2 separate regions of the Homo sapiens genome follow, and region 2 is linked to region 1. The links are contacts of gene promoters, found by promoter capture Hi-C in blood cells and fetal thymus (Javierre and others, 2016). All regions are on one chromosome and are shown on one strand. Each heading gives the region's core, a stretch centred on a gene start or on the middle of the fragment in contact. The rest is flanking DNA. Distances are from core to core; before and after follow the strand shown. Region 1 holds the start of IGFBP4 (insulin like growth factor binding protein 4). Region 2 holds the start of KRT28 (keratin 28).

Evidence for each region. The method cuts DNA at HindIII sites, captures the fragments that hold promoters and counts their contacts. A CHiCAGO score of 5 or more calls a contact.
Region 2: the fragment with the promoter of KRT28 here is called in contact with the fragment with the promoter of IGFBP4 in region 1 in 1 of 17 cell types (naive B cells); the score reaches 5.0 in naive B cells.

What each region holds. Positions count from the first base shown.
Region 1 is chr17:40,441,290-40,448,703 of GRCh38, reverse strand. IGFBP4 (insulin like growth factor binding protein 4) reads right to left here and starts at 5,254. Exons shown (of 4, transcript NM_001552.3): 1 at 4,620-5,254. The coding sequence starts at 4,968. RefSeq lists silencers at 5,048-5,097, 5,108-5,157, 5,168-5,357 and an enhancer at 7,404-7,414. The HindIII fragment of the contact is 4,750 bases long and covers 4,229-7,414 here.
Region 2 is chr17:40,795,188-40,802,050 of GRCh38, reverse strand. It overlaps KRT28 (keratin 28), which reads left to right and starts at 2,092. Exons shown (of 8, transcript NM_181535.3): 1 at 2,092-2,607; 2 at 3,052-3,134; 3 at 3,660-3,816; 4 at 4,770-4,931; 5 at 5,010-5,135. The coding sequence starts at 2,158. LOC105371776 (a long non-coding RNA gene) reads right to left here and starts at 717. Exons shown (of 4, transcript XR_934753.2): 1 at 487-717. RefSeq lists an enhancer at 2,914-4,113. The HindIII fragment of the contact is 3,919 bases long and covers 1-3,828 here.

The sequences.
Region 1 (7,414 bases), core at 4,005-6,504:
GTTTTTGTGGGGGTAAGGGTTATAGCATTGAGTCTCTTGATAACGTTAACCTTCTCATCTCCAAAACTGGCTAAATACTTGCTATTTCCCTGCTCACACAAGAGTTCCAGCCACCTGGTGCTACTCATCCTGGTAGTGCCCTCTGGAGAAATTCCAATGCCTGTGGGTTCCCCTCTGAGCAGGAGTGGAGTCAGACCTATTCCCCTGAAAAGTCTGACCTCCAAAAAGCTTGTTTGGGAGATGGGACTTCCAAGTAGGCTTGGTCCTCCTACAGCGCCCAGCTTGGAGCTAAGCCAGTTGACATCTGACTATAGGGGAAACCTCGGTCTTTGCTCCAGCAGCAGAGGAAGGGAAGGCGCCAGAGAAGAGGCCACACGGCTTTGGCACCACCGGCTGCAAAGTTTGTGGCGAAAGCCAGAGGATTTCCTCTTTCCTGTTGCCTGATTTTACCCTCACAATTTCTCCCCAACGCCAGCCCCTGGCCCTCGAGAGACACCTAGGCTATGAACTGAGTGGGCCCAGCCATCCCGACCAGAAGTTTCAGCTGTGATCCAGAGGGTCACCCACCTGTCCTGCTAGAAAGGTCTTTTCCCTCTTCCCCTAGACTCTAGCTGGAGAAGCCAAGACCGCTGGTGCTGGGTACCAGGCCCTTTCTCTGAGGTCTGGCTCAAGGGGTATCACCCCCAACAGCTGTGTCATGCTGCCAGCCTCAGAATAAAAAACAGATAAGGCAACTTGGCCTGTTCTTCCCATGTTGACAGCAGCAAAATGCACCAAAGGCCACCCCACCCCTCTCAACTCCTCTGAATGTTGCCCCAAATTTGCTCCCTCGTCCTACCGCTTCCCTAAGTCCCAGCATCAGCTTCTTCATCACCATCTTCCTCATCACTTCAATTTATTGAGCTCTTACCCGATGCCAGACGCCCCAACCCTGTGAGGCAGGTCCTGTTGCCCTCCCCACTTTAAAAATTAGGAAAATGAAGTAGACTGGGTGGAAGGGGAGGAGGAGAGACTTAGCTCTGCAGCACTCTGTCTTTAAGTGGAAAGACTCCTGATACCCGAGGCACCAATACTGCTAGCTTTGCCAGTACTAAATTAAAAATGGGAAGCGGCCATGCTCCTCCCTCCCCCTCCCCACAAGGCACAGAATTTCTGGGAATGCCCTTGTTCCCATGACATAACTGGATTCCCAGTACTGAAGTAGGGGGGCAGAATTTGCTGCATTGACTAAAAATTAACCCAGCCTGCCTGTTCCCTAACCCTGTCCCAAAGGGACTGAGAGCCCAGCTTAGGAACTCCCCGTCCAAACGCTGATCTTTCCGCTGTCCACTCCCCCAGATTCCATGAGTCTAGGATCAGTACCAGGATGCAGAGGTGTGGACTTTTGATGCACACGCCCCGCCTCATCTCTGGTGGCCTCAGTGGTGTTAAGCCACAACCTGGCCAGCACATGGAAAGCTGTGACAGGAGGGCAGGCAGGGGTGGCTGGAGACGGAAAGGGGAGATCTGCCCCTGGGGCAAACAGGAGGCAGCTGGACCATAGCAGCCAAAGAAGGGGGCATGCCAAGTGGCCACCCTCCCCCAGCCACCTGCTGACACTCAGCCCCAAAAGGAAAAGGCAGAAAAAATAGACAGGTACCCTCGACCAAGCTATTCGCGGGCCAGTGGGCCCAAACCTTGGGACCTAAAGCAGACAGTGGCCTACTGACTGTGTAAGGCTAAAAAGATGGGTGGGTAGGGGCTTGGTCGTCTTATCTCACCCACAGACCCTGCAGGGCTGCAGCAGAACTCTAGAGAGTGCCTTTTACATGGTGCCATGTGGCCCAGGTCACAGCAAGGGATTACTTCTATGATGACTAGGAGGTGTGGGAGGGCACGGGCATAGCTTGCTCAGTAGGTACCTCCAGGCTTCCCTCGTCTCTCTCCAGATACCTGCATCCATTGCATGGCTGGAGGCTGGAGGACAAGGCAAGGAGGAAAGGGGGAGGGGCATTACAGACCTTGGCTGTGTCATCCAAAGGGGACCTAAAGCCACCCCATTCCAAGACACCGTTTTTTGTTTTTTTTGTTTATTTGTTTTGTTTTCTTTAGACAGAGTCTCGCTCTGTCACCCAGGCTAAAGCGCAGTGGCACAATCTTGGTTCACTGCAACCTCCACCTCCCGGGTTCAAGTGATTCTCCTGCCTCAGCCTCCCAAGTAGCTGGGACTACAGGCACGCACCACCATGCCCAGCTAATTTTTGTATTTTTAGTAGAGACGAGGTTTCACCATGTTGACCAGGCTGGTCTCAAACTCCTGACCTCAGGTGATTCACCCTCCTCAGCCTCCCAAAATACTGAGATTACAGGTGTGAGCCACTGCACCCGGCCTACTTTTTTTTTTTTTTTTTTTTACGAAATAGAGTCGCCCAGGCTGGAGTGCAATCACGTGATCATAGCTCATTGTAACCTTGAACTTCTCATCTCAGACTCCCAAATACCTGGGACTACAGGCATGAGCCACTGCAGTTGCCTATTTTTTTTTTTTTTTTTTTGTAGAGACGGGGGTCTGGCTATATTGCTCAGGCTGGTCTCGAACTCCTGGCCTCAAGCAATCCTCCCAAAGTGCTGGGATTACAAGCATGAACCTCCACACCCAGCCCCTAGATATTCCTGGAGGCCAGTTTGCATTATATCCAGAGGACAACCACAAAATTCTCATGCCATGCCCTCCCCAAACCCCTAGGGGATCTTATTTTCCTCCACTACAGGATGGAGTATTCCTACCCAACCAGAGGATGAGGTATTCCTACCCAGCCCTTTGAGGGCTCTTCTGTCTTGCATTCAAAGTGCTGAGAGAGGAGGAGGCTACCAGCCATCCTTATCTGGTGCCAGATACCCTCTGGCTGGTGGAGGATGGAGATTCAAAGGGAACGTGACTCTGTTGTACCCCGCGAACCCAAGGGCTCGGCCCTTGCTCCCTCCCAGTCTCAGTACCCCTCCTCTACCATTGCCACTGGCATCTCTGCCCCAAGATTAGCGACTTTCTCCCCCAGGACCCCCCTTCCCAGATATGCTGGGTGCCAGGCTGGCATTTCTCCTAGAATGTTTTCTGCTGACCCATCTCTCCCTACCCAGGGGCAGGAAGGGCAGAGAGGCCCGAGGCCCAGACCCCTGGAGTCCACCTCCTTCCTGTTTTCCCTGCATCCTGCTCTCCTCGGCTGACAAGCTGCAGAGGATTGAGGAAGTGGAGGGTTTGGGTCCCAGGACAGGAAGCTTGGGGCTGGAGTCCCAGCATCCGGACTGCAACAATGGAAGCTTCAAGCACCAGGAAAAGAGACAGAGACAGACAGAGGCACAGGAGAGCAAAACAGGGTCGGAGATGGAATGAGAAACAGAGGCATAGATACAGAAAGACAGACAGAGAGATTCCCAAAGTAACAGGGAAAGACCAACAGTGACAGAGACACAGAGAAACAGCAACAGAAAGAGAGGGAGAGAAGCAGAGCAACTGAAACAGAAACACAGAATAAGGTGGAGAAAGAAACGCACGATGGGCAGAAGACACTGAGGAAAACAGAACTCGAGAGCATGACTAGTGAAACTAGAGGTTGAGAGACAAATCAGGAAGAACAAAAGAGCAAGAGAAAGAAGGAAAAGAGACTGAGAGTCTAAGGAGAAACTGAGAAACAAAAAAAGAAAGTGTAAGAATGAGGTTAGGGCAAGGGCCTTCTCAGAGTCTCTCTCTCTCTCTCTCTCTCTCTCTCTCTCTCTCTCTCTCTCTCTCTCTCTGTCTCTGTGTGTGTGTGTGTGTGTGTGTGTGTGTGTGTGTGTGTGTGTTTCTCTCTCTCTCTCTCTCTCTCTCTGTTTCTCTCCCCTGGCGCCCTGGCCCCTTCTCTATTCCCTATCCCACACACATGAGGCTCCTGCAGCTCTCGGCTAGGAGCCAAGACTTTTCTACCACCTCAAATCCTACCTGCCTGGAGAAAAGAACAGGGGGCCTGTATACCAGGGCAGGCAGAGGTGTCCAGGCCTGGCAGAGGGACCCCTGTCTTCCCACTGCCTCTCAAACAACAAGGTGACCTGGCTCTGGGCTTTGGGGAAGGGCAAGTCTAATGCCCCTCAACGCCAAAGTCCCTCTAATTTGTATGTCCCACTCCACCACTGGACCATGTAAAAAAAAAGTTCAGGCCCTGGCTCCCCAGACCACTGGGATTTCACCCTCGGCCTGGATCAGGAACAGAAAGCTTTCCCCACTCCCTCATCCTCCCCAACACACACCCCACCACCATCCTCCAGTTCTCTGGCCCTAGACAGCTGACTTAACTGGACCTTAATCTGCCACTCCTGCACCAGCAGCCAGGCCTCCCACTGGGACCCCCTTATCAAACAGACAACCCTTGGAGGTTTGAGATGGAGCGATGGGACAGTCTCCCTTGGTGGTGGCAACAGGCTGCTAGGGACTCGGTAGCAGTTTCCTTGATGAGCCTGTCCCATGCCAGTCGGGCCCTGCCACGTACCTGCCTTCTCTTCAACTCATAGGGGATTTTTAAGGGCCTTCCAGGGCGGCTGGAATGGGGAAGAAGCCGCTGGGAAGGGAGCGCACTCAGGAGGGAATTGGGAGGCCAGGGGTACCTTACCAGAGGGCTGCAGGCTTTCCTGGATGGCCTCGATCTCCGCCAGCTCCATGCACACGCCTTGCCCGTGCATCAGTGTGTGCAGGGGCTTCTCCACCCCTCGGGGCGGGTAGCAGCGCAGGCCCGAGCCGCAACGGGGGGTGTACACCCCGCAGGGCATCCCCAAGCCCAGGGCGCAAGTGGCGCAACAGCCGCAGCCCGGCTCTCGCACCAGCTCCTCGCAGCCCACGGGGGGGCGGCAGCGCGCCAGCTTCTCCTCGGAGCAGGGCGGGCAGTGGATGGCTTCGTCGCCCAGGCTCGGCCCGGGCCCGGCGGCCAGCAGCAGGGCGGCCACGAGGCAGAGGGGCAGCATGACCGCCCGAGGACTGGGCGCGGGCGCGGGGCGCTGGGCGCAGGCGGGGAGCGCGGGCGCGCGGGCGAGCGGCGGAGGGCACACGGCGGCAGCGCCTGGCGCTCCTGGAGGACCCGACCCGGAGGGCGCGGGGAGACGGGGCGGCCCGGCGGGCGAACGGGGACGTAGCGGGGGAAGTTAGCAGGCGTGCCGGAGGGGAGCAAGCCTGGCCGCCGAGGCGCTGCGCCGCATCCTCGGCCCGGCCCAGGCAGGCGGCGGGCGGCGAGGGGCAGGGGGCTGAGCGGCTGCCCGGGACCGGCTCCCCCGGACTTTATACCGGTCCCTGGCCACACCCCCAGCGCCTTCCCAGAGGTGGGGGAGCCGGGGCGGGCGAGGGGGAGAGGGAGAGGCGGCCGTTAGGGGGAGGGGGCGCTGTCCTGAGTCGCCGCCGCCGCCGCCGCCGCATCTGAAAGTCCTTTTCTGCCGAAGAAGGAAGCGGCGCAGTTTGGAAGCTGTAGCAGGCGCCCAGAGTGCCTCTGAACCGGAGCCCCGGAGGGGAGGCAAGGGAGAAGGGAAGCCAAGGGGCTGCTGCGGGGCCCCCTTTCCCGACCTCGGAGGAGTCTCGTCCCGCCCCGCCAAGGCGGCCTCAGTCTCCCACCGAGAAAGGGACTTCCTAGCCCGGACTCCCGGCTCTGCGGATCCGGTCTTCCTGGACAGAGCCCTTTCCACCGCACCCCGGTGCTTCCAGCCTCAACCGCTGGAGACCAAGCCTCCTGAGGTGGGGTAAAGCGTACAGGCACAGCTAGGGGCACAGAAAGGCCTGGAGGCCCTAAGACGTTAACAGGCTCTTGCCACTTGCCCCTTGCAACCTCTCCCGCCCCCGCAATCTCCCCAGGGCGCATTTGGGCCCTGGTCCACCCTGCTTCCCCAAGATGGAATCAGCAGAACTCCCGGGGAGGGAGGTGCCGCCGAGCCTCTTCCTCCTTCTTGGATGTTTGCCTCTCAGGCCCATTCAGACCCACTCGTGGAGGGAGGCAGGCCTGGGAGATTGCCACTTGCAATGTGCAAGTTTTGCGTTGAACAACTCCAGTGGGGCACCATTCCTTGTAATCATTGTGTATTTGTAGAGCTGTTGTGATCATTTCCCAGATGGCAGTGAAGGATTTGAGGGGCCTGCAGCAGTGACTCACACCTGTAATGTCAGCACTTTTGGAGGCTGAGGCGGGAGGATCACTTGAGCCCAGGAGTTCAAGACCAGTCTGGGCAACGTAGTGAGACCTTGTCTCTACAAAAAAATTTTAAAATTAGCCAGGTGTGGTGGCGTTCACCTGTGGTCCCAGGTACTCGGGAGCCTGAGGCAAGAGGATCACTTGAGCCCAGGAGTTGGAGGCTGCAGTGAGCTAGAATTGTACCACTGCACACCAGCCTAGGTGAAAGAAGGAAACTCTGTCTAAAAAAGAAAGAAAGAAAGAAGGCCGGGCGCGGTGGCTCACGCCTGTAATCCCAGCACTTTGGGAGGCCGAGGCGGGCAGATCACGAGGTCAGGAAATCGAGACCATCCTGGCTAGCACGGTGAAACCCCCTCTCTACTAAAAATACAAAAAGTTAGCCGGGCGTGGTGGCGGGTGCCTGTAGTCCCAGCTACTAGGGAGGCTGAGGCAGGAGAATGGCATGATCCCGGGAGGTGGAGCTTGCAGTGAGCTGAGATTGCGCCACTGCACTCCAACCTGGGCGACAGAGCGAGACTCCATCTCAAAAAAAAAAAGAAAGAAAGAGAAAAAAGAAGGCCAGGCGTAGTGGCTCATGCCTGTAATCCTAGCACTTTGGGAGGCCAAGGTGGGCAGATCACCTGAGGTCAGGAGTTTGAGACCAGTCTGGCCAACACGGTGAAACCCCATCTCTACTAAAAATACAAAAATTAGCCGGGCGTGGTGGCGCATGCCTGTAATCCCAGCTACTTGGGAGGCTGAGGCAGAAGAATCGCTTGAACCCCAGGAGGAGGAGGTTACAGTGATCCAAGATCATACCACTGCACTCCAGTCCAGGTGACAGAGCAAGACTCTGTCTCAAAAAAAAAAAAAAAAAAGAATTTTAAGGAAGGGATGCTTTTTTAATTCACCCAGTGTTGCTACTTGGGCTAGTGTTGGGCCTGGCTTGACCCTCTGTAAAATCCTATTGATCCCTATTCCCCCAGCCTTGCCCAATCCTGCCCAAATTGAGAAGAGCCCTGGAGTGGCATTTGGAGCAAAGATCCATCTCCTAGGTTCCCTCTCAGGCCCCCGCTAATTCCCACCCATTCTTCCCTACAAAGGCTTCTGCTGTACTGGAGCTGGTTTCAGGTTAAGCGTACCTGTCCAGGAATAATCAGTAACCCACTGTGGATTTTTTTTTTTTTTTGTCTCGGCCTAGAAAGCTGCAGGTCAGCCAAGCTGAAATGCAGTTCAGAGACCCTCTTCCTGCTTCTTCC
Region 2 (6,863 bases), core at 843-3,342, 360 kb before region 1:
CTTTAATAGCATTAACCACTTTCTGCTGAATTGTCCTAACAACTTTTTCTATCAGAAACTTATCCTTCATCCTCGATCTCCATTCCCATCTCTCTCCCCTTTCCTCTCATTTTCTCCCACATCTTTTCCTCTCATTTTCTCCCACATCTTTTCTTGTCATCTCCTCTCCATCCTCCTTCTTCACTTCCATCTCCTCTTCTGCTCCCACTTCCACACACCTAACATAAGGACTTCAAGGCAGAGTCTGTGTTCTCTAGATCCCCAATGCCACATCTAGCTTTGTGCCACTTAATTCTTATGCTAAGACTCCTCTTTTGAGGCAAATGCCATCCAATGGCCCCTCACCACATACACTCCCCTCTGCCTCATCATCCAAAAACCTTGACAATGGCTCACAGCCCACTTCCCTCCTGTCTCCTGCCATCATGAGAAACTTCACGCCTTTATAGATGGTACATTTAATGTCACAGACAGATAGTTCCTGACCTCCTACTCTCTTGCCTTTCAGGTCCAATCCACTTCTGACTTCTTGTTCCAGTGACTGTTGGTCCACTCCCATGACTACTCTGTGGACTTTGGTGACACCTGGAGTTGTGCCTACTTTAAAATTCTAAATTCTGGTTTCCACTATCCAATTTTAGCCTGTCATCCTTCACCTTTATCAATCTCCTCCTCACACTCCGCCTGCTCCATGACCTCATAAGGATACCCAATGACTCACCCTCTGCCCTTTTCTTCAGTCCATCTGTCCCTCTGGTTTTACTTTCTTCTTGCTATATGATCATACAGTCAATCGCCTCAATTGTTTTCTCAAGAACACCAGAAATTTCTTTGCCACTATTTCCTTCTTCTGGACCTGTCTTCAAATCCCAAAACCCACATCAATCTGATCATCATCCTTTCTATTCCTGCACCAGGATTACTTCCAAATATGCAGTTGAACATCATTATAAATGAGAGCTGGACCCTCCAATTTTCTTTTACTCATTGCTAGTCAAGTATTTTTCCAGTTCAGTATACATATTCTAAACAGTCATTCTTGCTATCAGTCACCTTCATCTGGAACATTCTGGCAACCCCTCAAATCCAGTTGGTCCAAACCTAAACTCAGTGTCTTCCTCCTCCTCTATTCCCCATCTCAGTGAATATTATGAGTTCCCAGAATCTAAAATTAATTACCTAAGAGTTATCCCCAATTCTGCCTTATTCCCTACTCTCCAAATTCAATCATATTACCATATGCTCTCAAAGCCATCTTCTCTGCATCCCCACTGCCTTCATCCTTCTCACCTGGACCATTATTCCAACCTTGTAATTGACCACCTTGTTTCATTTCAACCTGATCATTTTGCCCTCTGCTTTTTACTTAGGATTCATTACAAACTCTTTAGACCAGCACAGAAAGCTAACCATGATCCAGCCCCTGTCTGGACCTGACAATAGATTTCTTAAAGATTGTAATCACGCATTTTTCACTTCTGCATTTAGTTAACACTATGTCTTTCATTTTAGCACTTAGCATAGAGCACCAAACATCATAACCATGCTATTTTAAACAAAATAATAGGTCAATATTTGTGTCATTGTCCAAGATAATAAATAGATGTTATAATCATGGTAAGAACAGAGATGTCACTAGCCTCTGTTTTCTAAATAACACATTTTTTTCTGGTGGGATAAAATATCTGTTTCTGTAATTAGCAGTCCTTTATACCCCTCCATGGTAATTGAGACCCTACTGTACCTCACAGAACTCTATCATAATCTTACTTAACTTTATAAAAAATTTGATAATACCTGGCGCCAGATAATGACAGTATATGCCTAGGGTCTAGATGAAAGGAAAGGATTACTCACTCAAAATTAGAAGTTAAATTAATAAACTTAATATAGAACAAACCCTATTATATTTAAGATAAGAAATAGCCCAAAGCAACACCGAGGGATGTTAGACATTAATTATTTTTAAAATCACCCAATTATACATAATTTTATGCTAATCTAAGTGATGCCATTTTGCTTTTGGCATGTATAACTCAAATAGGAACGCCCCAATAATGATATATAAAAACCCAAAGAAATTATCAGTGCATGATATTCTGTTCTCTTGGGACATTACAGTTTTGCATAGACAAGGTGAACATTTCTCAAAACACCATGTCTCTCCAATTTTCTAATGGATCCAGGCATGTTTGCTTAAGGTCTGGAGCTGGATCTGTCAGACCCCTCAATGGAGGTGCAGGCTTTGCAGGCAGCAGTGCATGTGGTGGCTCTGTTGCTGGAAGTGAATTTTCCTGTGCCTTGGGAGGGGGCTTGGGCAGTGTTCCTGGTGGGAGCCATGCTGGTGGTGCCCTTGGAAATGCTGCTTGTATTGGCTTTGCTGGAAGCGAAGGGGGACTCCTCTCTGGAAATGAGAAGGTGACCATGCAAAATCTTAATGACCGCTTGGCATCCTACCTGGATAATGTGCGAGCTCTGGAGGAGGCAAATGCTGAATTAGAGAGAAAAATCAAGGGTTGGTATGAAAAATACGGACCTGGATCTTGCCGTGGACTTGATCATGACTATAGCAGATATCACCTAACAATTGAGGATCTTAAGAATAAGGTGAGAAATCACAGATTTGGAACTAACCCAAGTATTTAAAACTAAGAAATACCTAACAAAAGACATACAATAAGAAATGCTTCATGACTGTTATAACTTGTATTTATTTATTTAGATAAACAATTCTTCCTACTATTCAAAAATGGGCCCTTTGATTCATGAATTTTAATGTAGTTAAAATGTTATTAGTTCCATTGTTTATGTTGAAGTACATTCATAGGCATATGAATAAAAAAGTATTGTAGTTCTAAATTTAGGGGAATATATGAGAATAAATAAAACCATGTCTTTAATTTTTAAAAGTTAAACTTGAAACATTTTGATTATTACATAAGGAGGTGAAATTTTTATGCAAAAACTTGAGTAACCTTTTTCATTTCCTGAAATAATGAATCACATAAAAGCATACTTACTTGTTGTGTTCTCTGTTTTGGTTTATTCTAGATTATCTCCTCCACTACTACTAATGCTAATGTCATTCTGCAGATTGATAATGCCAGACTGGCTGCTGATGATTTCAGGCTAAAGTAAGTGACAGAAGAAAATCCTGCTCTAGAAAAAAGTTTCTATTTATTTAATTTGTTAAATAAAATTTCTATTTCATCCCAAGTAGAATGAACTATCACCTAAAAGATAAAAGGAAGCAAAGGATTTGTATTATAATGTTACAATCAACTTATACATAGTTATTATATTCCTGGGACAAAATATCAATATATTTCTCTGCCTGCCTAGAATACTGCCAAGCACAAAGTAGATGCTCAGTAAATCATTAGTCAACTAAGGAAAAACGTTAACTAAAATAAAATTCCAAAATGGTGTATTTTTATTTAACTAGGTTATGCTATTGGAATTTGTGTGATGAAATAACTTCCAATTATCCTGTACAGAATTGAGTGGGGGTAATGCAGGAGCGCTTTCTTCATATATTTTTATACTATTTACAGTCCTAATTCAATTTCTAATTTTCAGTTTAAAGCAATTGGGATTGAATATTTCTGTTTCTTGGGGTAGTCTTACTGGCACTGAAATTCACTTAAATGCCCCCCAAGGTATGAAAATGAGCTCACCCTTCACCAAAACGTAGAGGCCGACATCAACGGATTACGGCGAGTCCTGGACGAGCTGACGCTCTGCAGGACCGACCAGGAGCTGCAATATGAGTCTCTGAGTGAGGAGATGACATATCTCAAAAAGAACCACGAAGAGGTAGGAGAAGCTTTACCTGTAGTCCAATCACAACTCTGTACATTTTAAATACTGGGCAGGGGTTGGGGGTTAAAATCACAATAGTAATTCAGGTTCATTGTTATAATTTGCCAACGGATACAGACAGATTAGTCTAATAATACTACCTACTACGAGGGGATGTTAAAAGGCTTCAATGAATTAATACATATCACACGCTCAGAACAGTGCCTGGCCTATAATAATCACTCAATAAATGACAGCGGTCATCCCTAGGATGAATGCCTATGAGGGCCAGGATTTCAGGATTTTTTCTACTGTTCTATTCCCATCAACCTGACATTTAGTCAGTAACTATATGTTGAGTAACTCTCCGGTCTTTAAATCCCTTTCTCATTTAAAAGAATAAATTACTTCTCTTGGGGTGCTATGACTGTTTTTGGTGGTGGTGGTAATTTTAATTAACAGGTCCCTAATTTTTTTTGTTTGTTTTCTATTGCTTTGTTTTGAGACAGAGTCTCGCTCTGTGGCCAGGCTGGAGTGCAGTGGCGCAATCTCAGCTCACTGCAACCTCCACCTCCCAGGTTCAAGCAATTCTCCTGCCTCAGCCTCTGGAGTAGCTGGGACTACAGGCGCACACCACCAAGCCTGGCTAATTTTTGTATTTTTAGTAGAGATGGGTTTTCGCCATGTTGGCCAGGCTGGTCTGGAACTCTTGGCTTCAAGTGATCCGCCCGCCTCAGCCTCCCAAAGTGCTGGGATTACAGGAGTGAGCCACCTCGCCCGGTCAACAGTTCACTAATTAAATAGATGATTGGCATGAATATGGACCGAATATGTCAATTAAAAAATTGTGTGCCATAAATTATACACCTGACCGCAAACTTTGAGACATAAAGTAACACGTTTGAGAACTTCTCAGACTGAGTGTGAACCTGCAATGCCCCTAAAGCCACACTCTTGCTTCTCTCCAGGAGATGAAGGCTCTGCAGTGCGCGGCTGGGGGCAACGTGAACGTGGAGATGAACGCGGCCCCGGGGGTAGACCTCGCGGTTTTGTTGAACAACATGCGAGCGGAGTACGAAGCCCTTGCAGAGCAGAACCGCAAGGACGCGGAGGCCTGGTTCAATGAGAAGGTGAGGTGGGCCCCGTCTCCCTGCTCACACCTCCCCGGGGGTGGGGACTCCGTGTGACCCTTTTTCCCGGCCCTACAGAGCGCCTCGCTGCAGCAACAGATCTCCCACGACTCAGGCGCAGCCACTTTCGCCCGGAGCCAGCTCACCGAGATGAGGCGCACCCTGCAGACCCTGGAGATCCAGCTGCAGTCCCTGATGGCCACGGTAGGTGACAGCGAAGGTCAGCCTGGATCCTGTGATTCTAGAAAGCCTCCGAGAAACACTTCCCTCTGCCCTTCCTTCTTTTTTCCTATTATACCTTTGCCTGCAAATACTTAGCAGAGAGAGTGGAGGAGAGCAGGAAAAAACAGATGCATAGACACTCAAAAGAGAGCTTTTTCTTCCTCCTTGACATCACTGGGAGTTTCCTTCCTGGCTGATGCTTAGTGCTCATTTCATGAAAATAGACATTTCACATAGATCCTTTCTCAGGGTAATTCAGCTTAGGTCCGCAAAACAAACAGCAGCAATATTGCTGCACCAGAAAATTAGCCACAGGTCTATGATCAGGGGTGTGGGGCTAGTGTCCCACAGGGCAGGGAGCCAGCATCACACCAGCATCTCCTGATACTGATGAAGACATATTAGAAGCCACATGTGGTTTCACCAGGCAGAGGAAGAGAGGGTACACACCTGAATGCCACATGGGCACTGTCAGGCTCTTCATCGCCACAGAGTCCAGGGCAGAGGTCAAATCCCGGAGGGCACACCTGGGAGCCAGGCCTTCAGCCACTTGGGCATACCACCAGCTCCTGGCTTACTTCAAAGGTCAGCATGGCGTCAACCCAGGATTAAAAATGGCTTCCCTTCTAGAGTGTGAGCTGGCAGTGCCCAAAAGGCTTGACTTTGAGAATTACGGCATGCACATGGCCTAAGGACTCCCTTCCCCATAAGAGGTTTCGTGCCTCCTGAGGACACCAGGTTGTAACACAAAGAAGAGAGCAGCTGTTACCCAAGTGAGTGCAGTGAGCCAAAAAGGAAAAGATGACTCAAAACAACGGGAGATTCTTTTGATTTAGCCGCCCTCTAAAGGTGTGTGCTTTCTCCCTATATCGGATTTAGATGGGAGACTTGTTTTTACACTGACTGGCCCCTAACTTAACCAGGATGGCCCTCTTCTCCTCTCCCTCATCACTGCTGCTAGCAGGTACCCGAGACACCCCTGCCACTGTGGGCTCCTGGAACCTTCCTTTCTTCTCCATTTCCCTTCTTCCCTGAACTAGATCCCTGAGGACTCTGTTCCTGCTGCAGGAGCTGTGTGAGTGAATCCTCCCTCTATTTCTGAGCTACGCTGATGGAAATACATTTTCGAGTCCCCAGACCAGAATTGTGAGCATTTTCACATAGAAACAAGGATGTTATAAAGTAGTTAGAGTCTGTGCAGCCAGTGGTACTATAATTTGGGCTCATAGGATAATCCACACATAAAAAGCCCACTTAACACAGGACATAACTGAATTCTAGAATAATGGGAGCATAGTACCTAACTTACATCCCTGAGGCCCTGTTGTCTTATGAATTCTAAGCTCAATCTCCTAGAGTTAGAACACAAGTCATTTGTAAGTTGGGAGTTGTCTAAATACACAAATGTTCACGTTTGCTTCCTGTGATGTACAAACTTTCAAGTTCATCCTGTTCTCCTCCCTCTTTGACAAGCCAGCCTTCACGGTGGAAGACTGTGAAGTAGAGACGCTGTCCTCTCTGACTTATGAGTGTATTAGCAATCATAAAAAGGAATACCCTAGGAGGACGCATTACCAGGGAAATTAAAGTTTTGAGCTGCCGAGCACACGCCTCACTGGCGTCTTGCTACCTGTTGCCTTACTCTCCGCATTACCATCCTGATCTCCTTCCACTTACCTGCTCCTGGAGAGCCCAGCACCCTCCATGTAA